Regions from separate parts of the Homo sapiens genome. Here regions 1, 2, 4 and 5 are each linked to region 3. The links are contacts of gene promoters, found by promoter capture Hi-C in human tissues and cell types (Jung and others, 2019). All regions are on one chromosome and are shown on one strand. Each heading gives the region's core, a stretch centred on a gene start or on the middle of the fragment in contact. The rest is flanking DNA. Distances are from core to core; before and after follow the strand shown.

Region 1 (2,981 bases), core at 435-2,934, 560 kb before region 3:
TTCTTTTGCCCAGGTTTGTCTCAAACTTCTGGGCTCAAGCGTTCCTACCCCTTTGGCCTCTCAGAGTGTTGTAATTACAGGTGTGAGCCACTGCCCCTGGCCAAGACTCTTGTAAAGCTTCCCAAAGGAGGTCAGGTTTGGAAAAACCAGGTCTTTGGACCAGGACCCAGTCTTCTACAAGATCTGTTCTTGGCTTATATCACCTCAGACAATTGACCCTGGCCATGGCCCTTCTCCTCACTGCCTTTCACTTTCCTTTCTTTTAAAATTAGATAGAAGGGAGGGGAGATTTTGGACTAGGCTTTGACTTATGTTTTACACAGCTGCAATTTTCTCTAATTCTTTTTACTTTCATGGTTCAAGTCACTAAAAGGCTGCTGGTTCATTTGATGTTGAAGGGAAGATGGGGGTTGGGTGGATGGGGGATGGTTACTTGGCTTTAAGTCGCAGGAAGGAAATAATGCTGGGTTAGATGGCTCGTTCCAAATCTTACAAAGTTCTTACAGATTTGATTCTTAACTCTCAGATCCCTTCTGAGATAGTGAATATTGCTAGTATATAGGATGGTTCCAGACTGGTGGTTCTAGATTTTGTCTTCCAAGGAACATTTGGTAATGTCTGGAGATGTTTTTGGTTGTCACAATGTGGGAGGCAGTAGTGGGGATGGGGATTGGGAGCTTCTGGCATCTAGTAGGTAAAGGCCAGGTGTACTGCTGGACATCCTACAATGCCCAGGAGAACCACTCAAAACAAAGAATTATCCAGCCCAAAATGTCCATAGGGCTGAGGCTGAGAAACCCAATTCTAGACTGTTCTCCACAGTCACTACTGTCCTTTTTTTTTTTTTTAAGTTTTATTTTTTAAGACATGGGATCTCACTATGTTGTCCAGGCTGGTCTTGAACTCCTGGTTCAAGCAATCCTCCTGCCTTGGCCTCCCAAAGTGCTGGGATTACAAGCATGAGTCACCATACCTGGCCTGTTACTACTGTCTTACACACCATGAACAGCATTCCTTTCTTTAGTTTTTTATCACCAATGAGTTAAACTCATCTGTCTTCTGATGATGCAGGGTCTAAGAAGGTATGAGGGGAGAAGGTCAGTAAAAAGTTGAACTGAACTCTGTTCTTAGGAATGTTAAGTGTTTTAACAGCAGCCTGCTAGAAAAGTCATTTCGTAGTTTATTTTTCCCTTTCTTGTGGATTCAGTCACTTCACTGTTTCCTTCTCAGATTCTAAGAATTTTTCTTTCGAGGCTACTAATGTCATTAGAATATCCCCAGAGTTTTGGTATACTTTTTTTTTATTGAGGGACTTCTTGATATTTATATATTTTGGACAAAGCTGAACTTTGAGAAAGTTGTTAGTAGAATCTTTTCAGACCTAAAGATGCCTGAAGTTTAAAGGTTTAGGTTTGGTTAAAATGAAGTTGTCCTATGTTTTATTAAGACTGTATCTTGACTTCATTTAAAGCAAAAAAAATAAAAATCATTGTACAGTGCTTTCAGCTTCATGGCGAGACACTTATATTAAATGAACACATGCTGGTGTATAGCTGGACTGTCAGCAGCTTTGGGAAAACAGCAAACATTCAAGGATGGCTAGAAATGAGCTCCGTGTACCAGGCTGACTTTCCTTTGAAGAAACCTTTTAGTCAATATTTGATGTCTTGTAGATTTGGGGAAGAAAGATAAATAAATGTGTTTGCAGTTGTTCCTGGCTGAGAGAAGCTGAGTTTACCTAAGTTTCCATAATAAATTAATTACAACCAAAGGAAATGAAACAAAAGCCTAGGGGATGAAGATCATAGGTGAATGAAGATCCCTCTGCAAATTGACATGGGTTCTAGGTTTGACTTCTTTGTAGTGGAAATAAAATGCAGCTGAATGAGCTCTCATTTTTGCTGAATATAAGATACCTTCAAATTTAATAAATGGGAAAATGATGTGTACTGAGAAGCTTGGACATTCTCTGATGACCTTTTGTGTTATTTCAGTTCATTTAAGGTCACAAAAGTCCTACAAATGCCCTGTTGGATCAGATTAAAGAACTGCTCATCCTAGTTTCTGCAGACTTCAGAGAATATATTTTAGACAAAGTCATTCTTAGAATTTCTAGCTATACTTCTTCTTTTTTGAGAGACAGAGTCTGGCTCTCTTGCCCAGGCTGGAGTGCAAGTGCAGTGGTGCGATCTTGGTTCACTGCAACCTCCGCCTCCTGGGTTCAAGCTATTCTCTTGCCTCAGCCTCCCAAGTAGCTGGGATTGCAAGCATGTGCCACTACACGTGGCTATTTTTTGTGTGTGTTTTTAGTAGAGGCTGTTCTTGAACTCCTGACCTCAAGTGATCTGCCCACATCGGCCTTCCAAAGTGCTGGGATTACAGGCGTGAGCCACTGCACCCGGCCATCTAACTATACTTCTTGAATATCAGTTAGATACGGACCCTAGATACCATTAATTCTCCACATCCACATGTTATGGATCCATGATCAGGATCTAATTCATTCAGATTCCCCAGGACTTCTTGTTAAAGCAGTATTTACTTTTCTTCCCTCCAAAGCTCACTTTCAGACTTCTACAGGTGGCCCATTTACCTTCATTCCAACGCTCTTGACCCTTCATTCTTTTAACATTTGAATTCTATTCCATTTCCATCTTAATCCTTCTGTTCTGAAGAGGCCTGAGTCTTGCGTGGAAGGCCAAGACTCAACGCTTGATTATTTTATTACACCTCTCATGTATCTTATTGGAGATACATTATATATATATAATCAATGATATCTTGGATAAGATGTCCCAGTTTAATCTCAGATGCTCTTTGGTTTTGCCCAAGTCTTGAATAGTGATTTCAAGTTTGCTTCCAAAACTCATTTTGATGATTCTATGTGGGTGGTTTTTTTTGTTTTGTTTTGTTTTTGTTTTTTTTGAGACAGAGTTTTGCTCTTGTTGCCCAGGCTGGAGTGCAATGGTGCGATCTCGGCT
Region 2 (2,736 bases), core at 57-2,556, 580 kb after region 3:
ATCCATCATTTTAGTCTAATGCTCATCATATACCAGAATCTGATCTTTTCCTGGTAATTTAGAAAGCATCAGAAAGTTCATAATTTACTTCCTTTTATGTTAGAAATTTTTCTTTAGCAAAAGAAAAACTCCTTTCAAAGGACATTACTCTAACCATTCTAGAAGCTGATAGTGGTTCTATCCTTCACATGTATTTTTAGCTTGCCAGCAGTGCTGCTTGAAGACTAAATCACTTACAATTACTGGTTTTCAAAGTCCCCACATTCTGTCACTCAGTGCTGAATCAAATTCTTGGGTTTTCAAACTATGATGAGCTACTAGTTCATTAAAATGTTTTAAATTACTATTTTTATTTATTTATTTTTGAGACGGGGTCTCATTCTGTCACCCAGGCTGGAGTGCAGTGGCACGATCACAGCTCACTGCAGCCTCAACCTCCTGGGCTCAGGTGATCCTCCCACCTCAACCTCCTGGGTAGCTAGAACTAGAGGTGCCCACCACCACCCAGCAACTCAGCCACCCAGCTAATTTTTGTATTTTTGTAGAGATGGGGTTTTGCCATGTTGCCCAGGCTGGTCTTGAACTCCTGGGCTCAAGTGATCCACCCGCCTCGGCCTCCCAAAGTGCTAGGAGTACAGGCGTGAGCCACTGCACCCGGCCTTAAATGTCTTTATAGGAACTAGGAACATACAGAATATTACTAATACTGGAGCATTAATTTTTTCAAATAGAATTTGTCTAATTTAAACATATTTAAGATTTAGACCCCAATATATAAAGCAATCATTTAAAACATCACCACTTTAGATAAAAAAAAAAAATACCTAGTTTATTTATTTATTTACTTATTTATTTATTTTTGAGACAGAGTCTTGCTCTGTTGCCCAGACTGGAGTGCAGTGGCATGATCTTGGCTCACCACAACCTCTGTCTCTCGGGTTCAAGCAATTTTCCTGCCTCAGCCTCCCAAGTAGCTGGGACTACAGGCACACACCACCATGCCCGGCTAATTTTTGTATATATATTTTTTCTTTTGGAGACAGAGTGTTGCTCTTTCGCCAGGCTGGAGTGGAGTGGCAGGATCTTGGCTCACTGCAACCTCTGCCTCCCAGGTTCAAGCTATTCTCTTGCCTCAGCCTCCCGAGTAGCTGGGACTACAGGTGCGCAGCACCATGCCCAGCTAATTTTTGTATTTTTAGTAGAGATGGGGTTTCACCATGTTGGCCAGGATGATCTCAATCTCTTGACCTTGTGATCTGCCCACCTCGGCCTCCCAAAGTGTTGGGATTTCAGGCATTAGCCACCACGCCTGGCCAATACCTAGTTTATTTTTAAAGAGACAAGGTCAGCCGGGTGCGGTGGCTCACACCTGTAATCCCAGCACTTTGGGAGGCCCAGGTGGGCGGATCACAAGGTCAGGAGATCGAGGTCATCCTGGCTAACACGGTGAAACCCCGTCTCTACTAAAAATACAAAAAATTAGCCAGGCGTGGTGGCGGGCACCTGTAGTCCCAGCTACTCAGGAGGCTGAGGCAGGAGAATGCCGTGAACCTGAGAGGCAGAGGTTGCAGTGAGTCAAGATTGTGCCACTGCACTCCAGCCTGGGCGATGGAGAGAGACTGCATCTAAAAAAAAAATAATAATAATAAAATAAAAAATAAAGAGATGAGATCTCACAATGTTGCTCAGGCTGTATTTGAACTCCTGGGCCCATGCGATCCTCCTGCCTCGGTCTCCCAAGAAGTTGGGACTATAGGCACACACCACCACACCTGGCCTAGCTGTTTCTTTTTTTTATTTTATTTTTGAGACACAGTGTCTTGCTCTGTCACCCAGGCTGGAGCTGTAGTGACACGATCATAGCTCACTGCATCCTTGAACTCCTAGGCTCAAGTAATCCAACTGCCTTCCAAAGTGCTGGGATTACAGGCATGAGCCACCTTGCCTGGCCTATTTATTCTTTTTTTTTTTTTTTTTTTGAGACAGAGTCTTGCTCTGTTGCCCAGGCTGGAGTGCAGTGGCACAATCTCGGCTCACTGCAAGCTCGGCCTCCTGGGTTCATGCCATTCTGCTGCCTCAGCCTCCCGAGTAGCTGGGACTGCAGGTGCCCGCCACCATGCCCGGCTAATTTTTTTGTATTTTTAGTGGAGAGGGTTTCACCGTGTTAGCCAGGATGGTCTCGATCTCCTGACCTCGTGATTTGCCCGCCTCAGCCTCCCAAAGTGCTGGGATTACAGGTGTGAGCCACCCCACCTGGCCAGCCAATTTATTCTTAATCATTATAATTGTTAAGTCCAACTGACAGGGACATCATAAACACTTTCTAGATTAAATTCGGTCTTCAGATATGTTCTTTTGGATCCTCCGACAATCATTATCACATGACTTTTTATCCCTTGGAAAATGATTTTCTTTTCATAAATCAATTCAAGCTATTGATTAAAATAAGAGCTGAAATTCCAAAAGTAAAAAAAATTTGCATTGTAGCTAGTAAAACAACTAAACGTTCCTACGGAGAAAAATAATCTTATGGATATTTTTCTGTTGCCTCTGGGGGAAAAATACAAAGAAATTTAATGATGCAAGCAATGCTATCAAATAAGATACTTTTCAGTGCTTAAACTGATTGAAACTGAGTCTGGAGATGCAGCTGGCATCATTTCCAAATAAATATGTATTTCTCAGAAAACCCTATTAGATGCTTGACATGCTCTGTCATTTCTGAATAACCTACTA
Region 3 (2,829 bases), core at 330-2,829:
CCCCATCCTAGCACGGCACTTAAATAATAAAAGGTCCTGGCAGCGAAACTCAAAACTGTTTATTTCTGACCTTTAGCAGTAAACAATGTTAGAAAGGCAGATGGAACCACGTTTATCAAAACACAGAACACACGATGTTTACATTTCCTAAAGCGCGTCTTTTAGTTAAAATTAAAGGATGAGAGTTAAAACGAGTTACAAAAGACAGCTGGTGTTTGAAAGAAAAACACTGGAAGTAATAAAAACGGAGTGAAAAGGCTGATGTTGGGATTAAAAGAAAACATTTTTTTAATACAGCTGCAAATCAGTCATTGTTTTCTGAGAGGCTAGGTTCATCTCCAGGATTTTCTTCTAGGAGCTCAACCAATGGCCACCTTTACTGAGTTAACCAGTCTCCAGGCAAGCAGCCCTTGCTGATTGGCTCAAAGATGTCGAGTAGAAAAAGCAGCCAATCCTGCCTTCAAGCCAGAACTGTGCCATGGAGACATTACAACCACTGCATGGCGAGAATGTGTACAAACCTGTCCGTGCCACAAATATCAGATCCTAGTTACAAAGACTGCCGCCGAAAGGAAGAGCCTTTGAAGCCAACACTGACACTGACCTGTCATCTACATTCTATTACTCTAGCTCTCTTTCGGAGGGAAAAAAAAAACTATTTTAACCAAAAGCGCATGAGAGATAAACTGTGCCCCCGCTAAGATGACTCACTCTATTGAGGATGAATTTCCAAACGGACGGCTTAGAGAGAGTCCCGATGAGAGAGGGGCTCTAGAAGGGTCCCATTGAGGGACAAAGTTGCAGATGGGGGCAGGGGAGGCGGGACGAGGGCCAAAGACACACAAATGCCGGGGAGGGGAAAGTCTCCCCGCAGTCTCCAAAATCCGAACGTGTGAGTGGCTGTGTGTCTGGACTTGAACTGAGTAAATAAACGGCTCTGCTAGGACTATGTGCTCAGGAAGGTGGCCTGAAGTTCCCAGAAGGCTCCGCCTGGCAAACACCTAAGGCGCCTGGAGGGGCGCAAGGTCAGGTCCCGGCGGGAACAGATCTGGGAGGAAACCTCGGGGGGTCGAGAGGGGTGTGTCTGGGGCCTGGAGGCCCGCCAGGCACTCGGAGGCCAAGGAAGCGGCCGCGGCCCCCGCCTTCGCCCGGCCTCGGGCTGAGCGCCAGGGCCCGCCTCTCGCCGACGCCTCACTTCCCTTCCGTCCGGGCAGCCGGGCCCGCGGGTCAGATCGGAGGCGGCCCGCGCCGGGCCCCACATTCAGGGCTTGGGGGTTCATTCGCCGCGCCGCCCGCCGCTGCTTCAGGCCCTCCGCTTCGGCTCGGAGCCCCGGGACCCCTAACCTCCAGGGCCCTCACCTTGGACCCGCCTCCCTGCCTCCCACCCGCCGCCTTTACCTGCTTCTGGAGCGGGCAGAGGGCGTCGAAGCCGGTGCCGCGTCGTCGAACGCACAACGCGGCGCCGCAGGTCCGCAGCCCTTTCCCGCCGGCGCCACTGCGCTCTCCCGCGCCGCGCAAGGCTAGCAAGCAGCTGCGGCCGCGGGGGAGACACGGCGAGCGCGCCCGGCGGGGAGACACTGCCGCTCTCCGTCCGGCCGGGGAAGAGCAGCCGCGCAGAAGCCCGCCGCGAGAGGGCGGGTGGGCGGCCGGGTGGGGAGGGGTCTCGAGGCGCCGGCAATGGCTGCCACGTCGCCCAGGTGGATCGCCGCCCACCGCCCCCCCCCAAGCCCGCCGGCTGTCCGCCACGACCTCTGCTTCGTCCCCGAGCTCCGCCTCGGCGCGGCGGCCCGGGGGACTTGAGCCCGCGGGCGCTCCCACCTCTCCCGCTCCCGCTCTCCCGTTGGAGAGCAAGCCCTGCCCGGCCGGTTCGGCTGCTTCCGGTCGCCCACCCCCCAAGTCTCGCCCGAGAGCGGGCCGTGGTCCCCACTTTTCTTATCAGGGGGTCCCTGGAGGAGCAAGCCCTTCTTCGAGTGTCGGGTTCTGCTTGGGGGGAAGGCGGGAGCTGTTTGGCGCTGGGGAACATTGCAACAGGCCCGGAATTTTTGCCAAAATAAGCGGCGCGGTAAACCACAGCTGTTTCTAGCCCTCGGCACTCTCCCGAGCCCCAAAAAACAAAACAAACACAAGGTCGGCCTCGCGAGGTGAGGGGAGAAAGGAAAGCAGAGCTGGGACGAGCCCTGACGCGCGCGGGGTCCAGGCTGCAAGTTGGGAGGGACGGCGAGGCGAGCGACCGGCCTCGGCATTGCCTGACTAGGGCCGTGGCCGCTGCGGCGGGCACGGGAACCCGCCTTCTCGCGCGCGGCCCTCCCGCGGGGGGCTTCCGGGCGCGCGGCCTCGGAGCCCCACGGGGAGACAAAGGGGTAGGCGACTGCCACGGGGTGGAGGGAGGCTGCCCAGCCCCATCGGCCCTGCCAGCGTGCGGTCTGAGCTCGGGGAATGTGTGCGCCTTAGCCGGTGGAACCGCAGCCGCTGGCCTTTGCCCCCAGTTCGAGCTTGAGTTTTCGGATGCCAAGAAAAAGCAAAGACGTGCTCTTCCCTCTTGCGACCGCTGTAGTATGAGTCCGTCCCCAAGCCTGCACCATTTTTTTTCTCTCAACTCTGCTTTCCCTGGTTTATTTGTTCTGGGTTCTGATGTGAAATGTTTAGTGTTTTCAGGGTACGCAAATTTTTCACCTTTGCTTTCTGGTTGGTGGTGGTGGTGGTGATGGTAGTGGTGGTGGTTTTGCCTGTTTTTTACTTCCTCCGTCCCCTCCCTTTGCGGTTACTTTTCATTCCACTTGCAGTGGTTTTTCCCAGAATAGAGAAGCGAAATAACCTCATGACAAAGTG
Region 4 (2,841 bases), core at 159-2,658, 570 kb before region 3:
TGTTTGTAAAAATCCCATCGTTAGAATCTTCCAGAAACTGAGGCTGGGAGAGATTAAATATCTTGCTCATGGCCTCACAGCTGGTGAGTGGCAATGCTGGTGCTACAGCCCATGTCTAACTCTGACCACACACTCTTCTTCAGAAAAAAGCCATAATGTAAATAATAATAAGAAGAATAACAACAACAATAACGGCAGCTAACACTGTGTGCTAGGCACCGTTCTAAGCTCTTTGCATGTGTTAACTCAACCAGCAAAGAACCATTTTTGGAACATTCTTTCACTAAAGTAGCCCGGTATTTTTTTCTTTCCCCTCAGCTGAATGACACTGCAACCCGAAATCACAACTCTGTTTTAGGTTCCTGGTGGTGCCTGCTTCCTCTTCTAGTTTGTTTAGTCACAGAATTCGATTCCTGTTGGCCCATTCCGCGCCTACAAACAGGCTTAGCGCTCCACTGAAATGCGGGAGGCTCCTTAACTCTTGTATAAACAGGTAAGGCGGAGGGGGTGGGGCGCGGATTGCGGACATCTGGGTTTCTTGGGAATTGGGATGGGGTGGGGGTTCGAGCCAACTCCCCAGAGAGCAGGCAAGGTGAAGCGAGGGCTTGGCTGCTGTTTCTAAATGCAGTGTTTTTTTGTTCCCTTTCTAGAAACCCTCCGTAACTCTAGGTCAGAGCGCACTAAAATGAGCCACTTCTGAACGAGCAGCGCCCAGGCCCCAGGCCCTGCTGCGAAGGCCCCGGCAAAGGTCAGGGCCCCGTCCGCGTGACGCTCCTGCCTGCGCGCGGCCAAGCCATGCTCGGCCCCAGGTAAGGACGCCCCGGGAGCTCGCCCCGGGAGCTCTCCCCGGGCACGCGGGGGTCGCAGAGATCCCACCTCGTCCAGCGACTTGTTTATGGGGGGAAGAAGGGGAGCGGGGCGGTTCCGATCGGCTTGAAATTCAGCAGCAGGTTCCTAATTTCTCCAACGTGGTTCTGGCTGGGTTTCTCGGAGCAGCCCGAAGGGGGCCGAGCGTCTGACTCGGACAGATGCCCCCAGGTGGAGCAGGTGCCACTTCTGGGTGTCTGAAAGGCATGTGACTTTTGGGGCGGGGAGAGAAGTCCGTCTGGTCAAGTCCCCCAATCTCTGCCATCAAGGCCGATTTTCTTTGAACCTTCAGCAAAGGTATCTGCGCTCCTAAAAAACAACAGGAATGTGGCACTGGCCTTTAGCCAGGGGAGGCTCAGCCAGCAGGATAAAATTTCAGGGCAGATTTACGGGAAGTTGCCGGTGTTGGGAGTAAAAATCTGGTTTGGTGAGTTTAAGGGAAGGGAGTAGACGAGAGACAACCTTGCTACTGTGAGGCGGATGGCCTCGGCAGGGGGCGGGCGGCGGGAGGAGAGAGGGAGGGAACCGGGAAGGGCCCGCAGACTAGACGCTGAGCGCTCCCGTGCGCAGCGCCCCACGCAGCCGGGACGCGGCGCCGCTCTGCGGGTGGAACCGCCGCGCGCTCCCGGCCTCGGGAGCTGAGCCCGAGAGAACTTCGCTGCCTTCGGGTCGCCGCTCCCGCTTTCCACTGTGGAATGTGCAGCTTGGGATAGAGAGAAACCAGGGTTTGGGGAGCGGTCCTCCTGGAGACTTTCTCTCTGCAAGTCTCCAAGGTTAAGCAATTCTGACCCACTGGAATTCCCAGAGCCTGGGAGTTAAGCCTAAAACGCTCTGTTGCTTTAAGCGGCGCGGTGGGGAGTCGCTGGACACTCCTTATTTTGGTTTTACATTAAAAAGAAGGCGGACGAGAAGATGTTGTAGGTGACTTCCTAGCTGTGTTAAGTTGCTCCTGGGCTGTGAATGGTGTTAATTTCTGAAGTGGGCGGCTCCAAAAACTTAACAAGGAAAGGTAAGGTGGTTTTTGGTAGTCCTTCTAACTATTGTCCCTTAATCTTACATTTGGGTCCCAATTTTTGAAGTGTATATTTTTTTCTTATTCTTCTCTCTTTAGCTCTTATCCCTCATGCTATCACTCATCTTCTGTCTCTTGGTATATTTAGTGGGAAATAAAGGGTTTATAAAACGGTTTTAAAAGGGTCAACCTCTGGGAAGGCAGATAATCATATACAGTCAGTCCCATCGTGTTTCCTGTAGTGATGAATCTTTTCCCATAAAAGAAACTGATTTTTTTTTTTCACTCTTGAAAATACATGATTGGACCGCCCAGAAGCACAGGTGACTTTAGACTCAGATTATTACAGTGAGACTGAGGAAGCGTCCTGGACAGGAGGCATCTCATTTAAGTGTTAACCAAGGCAGAGGGGGGTCTTCCTGCAGTAATTTACGTCTGAAAGTAACACTCGGTAGAGGTGTAGTTGTTTCAAATTAAAAATTCAGCCTGTAGAAAAGGGTAGGACTGACGAATTATGACATCTGACAAATTAGCAGTTGACCGGATATTTAAGAAATCAGATAAAATAAATGGAAGTGGAATTTTTCAAATAAATGACTCATTTTTTAATTAGGTAAAAGTTCAGCCACTCTTGGGTACTGTCCCAAGGCATAAGTGATAGGAAGATACCATCTTCAAGGTACTTACAGGCCATTACCGACCTGAACTAAAAATCAAACCTTTTTTTTTTATCTGGTGGTATTTTAATGACTCACTGTTTTCTTTAGCAGGAATATAGATTTTAAAATGTATTCTTTAAAAGTTTTAAGGCAAGGTCATACGAATTTCTCAGGGGAGGGAAAGCAAAGGGTTGACAACCCAACATGAAGGAGTTGCCGAAGTTTTGAGCTCAAAAGGTTGGCAATTAGATCCAGAGCATTTGAGAATTGCAGGTGCCGATTCTAAAAGGTGAAAGGTGGTCA
Region 5 (2,785 bases), core at 155-2,654, 530 kb after region 3:
CCCAGCTACTCGGGAGGCTGAGGCAGGAGAATCGTTTGAATCTGGAAGGAGGAGGTTGAGGTGAGCCGAGATCGCACCACTGCACTCCAGCCTCGGCGACAAGAGGGAGACTCCGTCTCAAAACAACCAACCAACAAGCCTACATATCCTGCCACACGTGCTACAATCCACAGCAAACTGTTTCATCCACATTCAACCACTTTCTTAAAGTCACCATCATGATCCTATCAAGAAAACCGTAATTTATATGGTATTTTAATGTGCCTTTATAAATTACTAATCACTTTCTTCATGATGTATGTTAAAATGGCTTATGTCACCTGATGTAATCCTTAATGAGGGAAATAAAAGGCCATGATTATGCCTGGCTTTTTTTCTTATATGTTAGATTTGAGTGTTAAAATGACCTCGAAGCGGCGAAAGAAAGGAACGGAACTGCCCTCCACATTAAAAATGAGCAGGCTCCATAGGTTAATTTTACTCTTCCTCACGCACGGCACTTACATGTTGCAAACTCTCTGCTCCACAGCACGCACAGACATCCCAAATCCCGGATTGGGCCTGAGGAACATCTCTGCAAAGAGCGCCAGGAGGGCGTGGGGGTCCCGCCTCTCTCGCCAGGGACCAGGGAGTGGACACTCACTGGTCCAGTCATGAGGAACTCAGCATCCTCCTGACGGGAGGCGCCTCTTTCCCAGAAGCGGTGGGTCAGGAGGAATCTGACTAAACCCTGGGTTGCCGGCCCGGAGGGCGCGGTTGACCCCGGGGCCTCGAGGTTGTGGGCGAGGAGTAATCCGCCCGCCGAGACCGACCCGCAGATCCAGGAGACCGAAACCCGAGGGCGGCGCTCCAGGGTGCTGAGGAGACCGGAAAGGCGGCCAGGACCTTCCGGTCGCCTCGGCCCACCACCCACCCAGTGTCCGCGCAGCCCTAAAGCCTGGCAGACGCGGAGCGCACGCGGCCTTTGCCTCGGCCAGGACAGGGCAGCGGGGAGAGGGCTGCTAGACAACAATTCTTGACCCCTCCTCGACCCACGACCGCCAGGTAGGCGCGCAAAGCTCCTACACCTGCGGCGCGCCCCCGTCCCCTGGTCCAGCGGACACGCCACGCACGCAGCCCCGCCCAGCGCCGCTCGCGGTAGGGGCGGAGCCGCTGAGCTGGCCAAAGCGGATTTGCCCAGCTAGGCCAGGGGCGGGGCAGGCCCTCCCAGCCAGGACCAGCCCCAGTCTCCCCGCCCCTGAGCCGTGAAGGAAATAGGGACCTGGCCCTGGGCCTTGTGTAGCGGGAGGGGGAGCTAGGAAGCAGCTGAGGGCAGAATCCAGGAGGGCCTGGCTGCGGGGGAATGAAGCCTCCGCCTTCGCAGGCAAAAGCCTTTAAATACGGGCTCAGGCCCGGGACTCAGAGTGTAACGCGTGGCAGCCTGAGGGAGGGGCGTGCGCCGAGAGGGAGCTCAGATCGAGCGGGGCGCGGGTGGAGAAGCTGCGGCGGCGCGGCCCGTAGGAAGGTGCTGTCCGAACGATCGGGATAGGAGCGGTCCCTGCGCTTGCTGCTGGGAAGTGGGTAAGCGCCGCTCCCAGGCTGGCCCCGCCGCCCGGGCGGGATGCTCCCAGGTCTGGGCGGGATGTGGAGGGAGCGGGGCTGGGGTGTGCGCGCTGCTCCCGGTCGCTCGCTGCGCTGGGTCCCGGGCTTCCCGTCTCACGACCTTCGTCTCTTTGGGGCTTAGGGCGGGAACCGCATTTTGGAACTGCTGTCCTGGGGATGTGGTCGTCTGGGCTTCTTATTCAAGACTCGTGAGTCTTCCAGCCCCTTCTCTTTCTGCCTTTACCCACTTTCCTGACTTGGATGAGATTTCCCTGCCGCCTCCAAAGCCGAACGCCCACCACAGGAAGCGGTTCTCTCGTTGGGGACCTCATTTTGGCCGCAGAGTCGTAGTCTTTTGTTTGTGTTTAAGAGTCTGCTCACCTGAGGGGCTCCTGCTTTTCTCATGCCGCCCCTCTTAAGAAACCAAAGAGAAACGAAGCCAGAAAGCCCTCTTGAGAGCAAAATACTAAGACTGCCGTGATATCTGTCCGGGATGTCCTGGAATCCATTGTTGGCCCCCTACACCACAGAATTGCTCTGTTTGATGTCGGGGAAGGCCTTTCCTGGGTGCCTCGGGAGACCATGTTTGTGTGAGATCTTGAAAAATTATACGTCCTATAAATATATAGGAAGATAACTTAGTAGGGTTAGGAATTCTAGTATAGAGAAAAGAGGGGTTCGCTGGTAGGGATCTATTCATGGGCATACAGAGCAGTAGCTGTCTATCGACAGACCTCAAAGACACAGTGAGCCTTTGAGTTTCTTCAAATCCCTTAAGAAATGGAGAACAGTAGTCTTTCTTCAGGGGGGTTCTGGAAATGAAAGAGCTGACTGTCTGCTCTGAGATGTGCTTATTAGTGGCCAGGATCCAGTTTAAGGTAAGGGGTAGACAACCCTGATTGAAAAGATCTCATTTCTTCTCCCGTTGCTGTACTCCTTTTTCTAACAAAATCTATAACTGGATAAGCATAATCCATCTTCCTTCTTGTTTACTTCCACAGCTTTACATGATAACCCTTAGACATAAAATTAATACCGGCTTTCTTACTGATTAAATATTTTTCTCTGGTCAGGCATCTTTTACTGTTTAATTTCTGGAAATGATTAAAATGTGTGAAGCTGATGTATCCAACTATAATGCCCATCGTTAGCTCCTGGGTACCTATGCAAAATATGCTGTAGAGAGCTGGGGCTAGAAGGATTA

The links. Contacts are between HindIII fragments. The study calls those that stand out against the background at their distance.
Region 1: a contact is called between a fragment that was not itself captured here and the fragment with the promoter of N4BP2 in region 3, in 3 of the 25 tissues and cell types used here (dorsolateral prefrontal cortex, lymphoblastoid cells and small bowel).
Region 2: a fragment that was not itself captured here is called in contact with the fragment with the promoter of N4BP2 in region 3 in 2 of the 25 tissues and cell types used here (dorsolateral prefrontal cortex and lymphoblastoid cells).
Region 4: the fragment with the promoter of RBM47 here is called in contact with the fragment with the promoter of N4BP2 in region 3 in 1 of the 25 tissues and cell types used here (IMR-90 fibroblasts).
Region 5: a contact is called between the fragment with the promoter of UGDH here and the fragment with the promoter of N4BP2 in region 3, in 2 of the 25 tissues and cell types used here (adrenal gland and mesendoderm cells).

What each region holds. Positions count from the first base shown.
Region 1 is chr4:40,611,673-40,614,653 of GRCh38, reverse strand. The region is part of intron 1 of RBM47 (RNA binding motif protein 47); the gene reads left to right. Among named protein-coding and RNA genes, the nearest start is that of RBM47, 17 kb to the left of the region's middle. RefSeq lists an enhancer at 251-310. The HindIII fragment of the contact is 4,638 bases long and covers 1-2,981 here.
Region 2 is chr4:39,473,506-39,476,241 of GRCh38, reverse strand. All of the region lies in intron 10 of LIAS (lipoic acid synthetase), which reads right to left. Among named protein-coding and RNA genes, the nearest start is that of LIAS, 16 kb to the right of the region's middle. The HindIII fragment of the contact is 7,806 bases long and covers 1-2,736 here.
Region 3 is chr4:40,055,600-40,058,428 of GRCh38, reverse strand. N4BP2 (NEDD4 binding protein 2) reads right to left here and starts at 1,579. Exons shown (of 18, transcript NM_018177.6): 1 at 1,399-1,579. It also overlaps the pseudogene LOC344967. RefSeq lists enhancers at 518-617, 718-767 and silencers at 958-1,307, 1,358-1,817, 2,158-2,367. The HindIII fragment of the contact is 26,276 bases long and covers 1-2,829 here.
Region 4 is chr4:40,628,431-40,631,271 of GRCh38, reverse strand. RBM47 (RNA binding motif protein 47) reads left to right here and starts at 1,408. Exons shown (of 7, transcript NM_001098634.2): 1 at 1,408-1,876. RefSeq lists enhancers at 1,545-1,614, 797-1,674, 1,675-2,551. The HindIII fragment of the contact is 13,848 bases long and covers 1-2,841 here.
Region 5 is chr4:39,526,058-39,528,842 of GRCh38, reverse strand. UGDH (UDP-glucose 6-dehydrogenase) reads left to right here and starts at 1,404. Exons shown (of 12, transcript NM_003359.4): 1 at 1,404-1,560. UGDH-AS1 (UGDH antisense RNA 1) reads right to left here and starts at 1,004. Exons shown (of 5, transcript NR_047679.1): 1 at 505-1,004. RefSeq lists an enhancer at 520-579 and silencers at 960-1,259, 1,510-1,689. The HindIII fragment of the contact is 14,033 bases long and covers 1-2,785 here.